Regions from separate parts of the Homo sapiens genome. Here region 1 is linked to region 2. Evidence: promoter capture Hi-C in human tissues and cell types (Jung and others, 2019). All regions are on one chromosome and are shown on one strand. The core of a region is centred on a gene start or on the middle of the fragment in contact, and the rest is flanking DNA. Distances in the headings are between cores, read along the strand shown.

Region 1 (2,783 bases), core at 8-2,507, 420 kb before region 2:
ATAAGCTCTCACATTGTTGCCCAGGCTGGTCTTGAACTCTTGGGCTCAAGTAATCCTCCTGCCTCAGCTTCCCAGAGCACTGAGATTCCAGGCGTGAGCCACTGCACCCAGCCCCATTTTGTTCTTAATAACTGTCACATTCTCCAACGTTGTGCATCCTCTAATTTGAATTTGGCTGATCCAGCTTGGGCAGATCATCTCCAGAGACATATTTTCATGTCACTTATGGGTTTTTGGTTATTATTTTTGTGATGTGTAATATCCTCAACCCAAATAATAAGCCAGTGATTCAAAAGTGGTTAATTAAAGCCTAAGAAGAGTGAGAAAAATAGTAACCCAAATACTACAACTGAGAATAGTGTTATAAAAGTAAATACGTAGTGTCCAAGCATATGGCTGGGCTAAAAAAAAAAAAAAGGAAGAAAGAAGAAAAGTAAATACATAGTGAACAAGCATCTAGTTCAAAAATATGTAAATCTCTGAGAACTGGGACACATCTGACAATTTCACACAAGTAGCTGAAAAAGTGTAAATAGTGAGTATGATGTTGAAGATCTGAACTTAACTTTACTGGACTGGTGATCTATTCCATTTTAATCCCCAGTGAGTTGTGTGTTATGAAACTTTGTCAAATAGTGGCATAAAGCCATCAAGATTTTCACATCATTTTCAAACACAGCACAGTGACCTTTCTGGTAAACCATCAGAGACTTTTCTTTTTTTTCCAGAACAAGAGCAAAATAAGCTTTCCAGGACAAAATTAATGGATTTTCCCCCAGTAAAGGCAGGAAGAAAAACAAAATGACAGAGGCAGCATTTAAAAGTGCACTCCTCTTAGTAAAACACAGCTACAAAGTAATACTATCTGAGAAGATTGTAACACAGCCGTGTTATTAATGATACACATTTCTCTCACAGAGAATGAAAAACCAACTTTTGGCAAATTTCCTTTATCAAATGACAGTGTTGGATATCACGTGGTGTCAATTGCAAATATTATGAGAAAATAGTTTGATTTTAATAAATCCGGCTATCTTATACTCCTCATTGAAAAATGTAAGTTTTTGCCCAGTGATAGTTTGTGTAATACCAAAATTTTAAAAAAGATAATGACATTTTATTCCTCTAAGGTGAGGTTTGAACTGTCAGTTATTACATATATTGTCATCTGAGCAAGCTGTTTAAGATCTTAGAACTGATCTTCAGTGGCCTAGTCAATGACTTAAGGAAATGGTTTCATTTCATCTTTTTCAAACATTCTTGTGGCCCCATGTGAAGCTGGCTAAAAATCAATGATGTGCTGCTGGGTCTGGTGACTCATGCCTGAAATTCCAGCATTTGGGAGGCCAAAGCGGGTAAATTGTTTGAGTCCAGGAGTTCAAGACCAGTCAGGGCAACATGGCAAAACCTTGTCTCACAAAAAGTACAAACAAAATCATCCAGACATGGTGGTGCATGCCTGTGGTTCCAGCTACTGGGGTGGGGTGGTGAGGAGCTGAGGTGGGAGGATCACTTGAGCCTGGGAGGCAGAGGCTGCAGTGAGCTGAGATCATGCCACTGCTCTCCAGTCTGGGCAACAGAGTGAGACTCTTTCTCAAACAAAACAAAACAAAACCAAAACCCCCCCCATTTCTCCACTCAAGGCCACTTCTGAGATCCTGAGTGACTTGCTCAAATGGCAATATATTCAATATCTGTATTGTCCAGACATCACCAATTACAATATTTACTGTTGAGGAGCAAGTTAGCAGAATTTCTTAAAACCAAACAGCAGTATGACTGCTCCATTTTTATTTTGATTCTTTTTCAGCACTTGGTGATTTTGTTTCTGAGCAGGAGAAAGGAATCGGTGACATATTATTAAGACTATTTAAAAACCACATCCAAACATTACTCAGAACTTAAAGAATTCTTTCCGGAGTCAAATTCAACCAAAGAAAGGATTATGACTCTGCTTGCTCCCCCCCACCGCCGCCCCCCTCTCCCTGGGTGAAATACTTAGTCTTCTGGCTTTTGAAAGCTTTGTACCTGTTGACCTAATGTCCGAGAGAGGGGAGAGCAGTCTTTAGGAAGAAAGAGGTCTGTGATTTCTGAATTCTTGTTTGGTCTGAATCCAGAACCATCTGTCAGAGCCACCAAACATTTGCTGCCATTTCTAATGACCTATAATTGTGGTTTAGGATTTTTCTAATTTGGTACGAATAAGGAATAAGAAAAGAAACTGACAGGATATGAAAACTCCTTATGGCTCCTACTGTCACACAGGGCGCAGACGTACTGGCGGAAATTTTCAGAAGGTATCATCACCCTCCCTGATATGTAACAATTATCCTTCATGTTACTTTTACACAGTTGCATTTCAAAAATGATTTTAGAAATACACTGTTGTTTTAAAACTTGTTTAAAGTGGGTGGTTGATGTATGAGCTCAATGCCCAGTAAGGGCTGCTGATGTTGAGTGTGAGAACACTCCCGTTGCTGCCGAGGCTGCATTCCATGGCAGATAAAGAAATCCCATAGGGAATCCAGGGAGGCCCCTAGGATCCTGTGAGCCCTGCTTGTCCAGCGCAGCCCTGCTGTGTTAGCTGAGCTGACCCTTGTCACAGCCTTCTGGTGGGTCACTAGCTCTTGCTCAAACAAAAGCAATGCTCTGCTCCATGTCCAACAGCTCTGTCCCAGCTGTTCTGCTCAAAGTCCAGTGAGGAAAATGCTAGTATCCCCATTTTATAGACGAGAACCCAGAAGCTCAGAGAGCTTCTCCCCAAAGCCACCCAGCTTGGAGGG
Region 2 (2,905 bases), core at 406-2,905:
AGGGGACTGAGTTAGTCCCTGCCCTTGGGGACCTCTCAGATTAGCAGGGAAGACAGACTCTTCATAACTAAATATAATCCAAGGCACGCCGTAACAAGGTGTAAAGCTCTGTAAAGTATTTTGCCCAGAGATGAAGGTAGGGGGACAGGAGAGGGAGGGTATGTGTGGATGAGTGGAAAGGAAGAGGGCAGACAAAGAAGGGGCTGAAAGAACTTGCCCAGTGGAGGGGTAGAAGTCCCTGGTCTGACTGCCTGGGAAAGGGGAATCTTCTCCACTCCCACCCCTATCCCATGCCCAGCCAGATCTTGGTTCTGATAGCCTATAGCCAAGGAGACTTCCCTTCTAGTGACCTCCTGGCTGCCCAGAGAGATAGGAGGTGGCTTGCCCCTTCTGCACTCTTACTGGCTCCCACCCACACCTGCCGCTGAGCAGCCAAGGAAGGAAACACCTTCTCTTGAGAACAAGGGCCAGAAAAGGGGTCACCGGGGTGAAACTGGACAGACCTGTGGGCAAAGGCAGGGAAGAGAAGGGCCAGGGAAAGATTTGCCAGGGAGAATTCCTTCTGAGCCCCAACAAGCGGTGCTGAGTTGGCGTCTGGGATTGTGTTAAGGAAGACAGGGCAACAGCGGGATTGAGAGATGGAGGGATCCCCGCATCTGAGGGGATACCGGGAGAAGGAGAGCTGAGGCAAGCAGGAGAAGGAGAGCACTGACAAGCCCATTTTACAGATCAGGAATGTAGAGTTTCAGCCTTAGGAGGAGGACGAGGACGAGGACACTCACGTGGGGCTCCTCCTGGGGCTTCACCTGTCCTTCCCCCCCCAACCCTGATCAGGCTGAAGCAGAGGGAATTCACACATGTTGGGTGCCCACTAAGTGTGCCAGGAAATACGCTTTGCCTACCCTTTCCATTCAATCCTCAGAGAACCCTGGGAGGAAGATTCTCTTCTATGATTGTCTCTATTTTACGGATGTGAAAGTAGAGGCCCAGAGACGTGCCGAGGTGATGTGGCAAGGTCAGGGAGCCACAGAGCCTAAGAGGGCAGCAGTTTAAGAGGACATAAGAGGCCCCCGCTGGACGATGCTGCGGCCCCCACCCCCGCCTCACGGGTACACACCCGCGGAGCACACCCCGTGTGCTCCCCGTGTGGCGCCTGCCAGTGGTCTCTGGAACCTGATGGGGAAGAGGTCAGCTTCCTGATTGAGCACAGAAGCCCTTCCCATTTTACAGATGAGGAAACTGACCTCCGGAGAGGAACGTGACCTTCTCAAAGATTCCTTTTTTACTAGGAAAGATTGTTAAATCCCTCTCCCTACGTCCCCTACTCAATGACTCATCGGCCCCACGGACTTGTTCGGGAGTGGGAGCGCCTGTGTATCCCAGTTCCCCCTTGGAAATAGACTCGACTCCTGGACTGTTAGCCTCGGTATTTAGAGAGACATCCCCCTGGCTTGGCCCAGGGGCCGCTCGCAGGGGCTGTCGCCGTGCCAAGGGCCCCCCCACCTCTGCCCCAAAGTCCCTCCCAGGGAGGCGCTGTCGCAACCCGCGGGACGGGGGCAGGGAGACCGGACCCAGAGGCACTGGGGTAGGGCTCGGCAGGGCGGGTCCGGGCGGAGCGCGGGGTGCGGAGGGCGGAGGCGGCTCCGGCGCCCGCTCTGCCCGCCGCTGGGTCCGACCGCGCTCGCCTTCCTTGCAGCCGCGCCTCGGCCCCATGGACGCCCTGTGCGGTTCCGGGGAGCTCGGCTCCAAGTTCTGGGTAAGGCGCGGGGCTCCGGGGTCACTGCGCGGGGGCCAGGGTCGGCCGGCTTCGCCCGGTCCCCGCCGCCTGCCTTCCCGCGGGGCCGGCAGGTATCCCGGGACGGAGCCCCTGAGACGGCCTGGGCGCCCGGGAGGGGGCGATGGGCTCGGGAGGGAGGTTGGCTGCGCCGCCCGGAGCCGGGTCCCACGCGGTGTCGGGGACCTGCCCTGCTCTGCCCTTCCCGGCTGCAGCACTGGGGAGCCCGGGAAAGTGAGGAAGAGTGCGCGGCTGGGGCGCAAAGGCACAGTGCGTGGCTGGGTGAGTCGGCTCCATCCCAGCCCCTCCGTCGGGTGCGGAAGGGGCGTTTCGCAATCAGCCGCGGGTTCCTGATGGAGGGTCTTCCCTCAGCATCTGCCTCAGGTTAGGACTCGGTTGCCCACCTGGGCATGGATTGCCCCCAGGGCATCCAGAGCACCTGCTCAACCAGGTGTTTTGGGAGGCCGGCTGTGCAGTGTCCCACCCTTCTTAGGAAGGTTTCCTGCCACCTTCTTTTCTCTAGGTAAGACTGAGGTCTGAGAGCAGGCCATCCCCACCACTCCGGACTCAGAAGGGAGAAGCAGACCCCAGTCTGGAGACAGGTGCAGGGTGTCAGGATTCCTGTAGTCCAACTCCCTTCTCACAGATGGAGAAAGGGAGGCCCAGAGAGAGGAAGGGACTTGCCCAAAGTTACCCAGTTCAATGAAGGCAGAGCTGGGATAGAAAAACAGGCTACAGGCCAGGTGCAGTGGTTCACGCCTGTAATCCCACCCTTTGGGAGGCAGAGGTGGGAGGATCACTTCAGCCCAGGAGTTTTAGATTACTGTGAGCTATGATCGCACCACTGCACTGTGGCCTGGGCGAAAGAGTGAGACCCTGTCTCTAAAAAAATAAATAAATAAGAAAAGAAAATCAAGCCTTTGGTGACTCTCACTCCAAATCTCTTTCTAAGACAGGCTGCTCTTCAGCCTGCTGACTCCAGCCTCCAGCACAGTTCAGGTGAGCTAAGTGCATACAGCCTAGGAGCTTTCTTACCAACTTGCAAAACTTACTTGCCTCTATGAGGCAAGTGATCATGTGGTCTCCGTTTTACAGAGGGAGCTCAGATTAAAGGTGCTTCTCTGTGGTCAT

The links. The method cuts DNA at HindIII sites, captures the fragments that hold promoters and counts their contacts. A contact is called where the count stands out against the background at its distance.
Region 1: a fragment that was not itself captured here is called in contact with the fragment with the promoter of ABCC3 in region 2 in 2 of the 25 tissues and cell types used here (liver and thymus).

The regions. Positions count from the first base shown.
Region 1 is chr17:50,217,601-50,220,383 of GRCh38, forward strand. No RefSeq gene overlaps it. Among named protein-coding and RNA genes, the nearest start is that of TILAM, 4.3 kb to the left of the region's middle. RefSeq lists enhancers at 1,128-1,422, 1,424-1,473 and a silencer at 1,128-1,422. The HindIII fragment of the contact is 4,120 bases long and covers 1-2,783 here.
Region 2 is chr17:50,633,226-50,636,130 of GRCh38, forward strand. ABCC3 (ATP binding cassette subfamily C member 3) reads left to right here and starts at 1,656. Exons shown (of 31, transcript NM_003786.4): 1 at 1,656-1,756. The coding sequence starts at 1,712. RefSeq lists a silencer at 1,626-1,675. The HindIII fragment of the contact is 6,790 bases long and covers 1-2,905 here.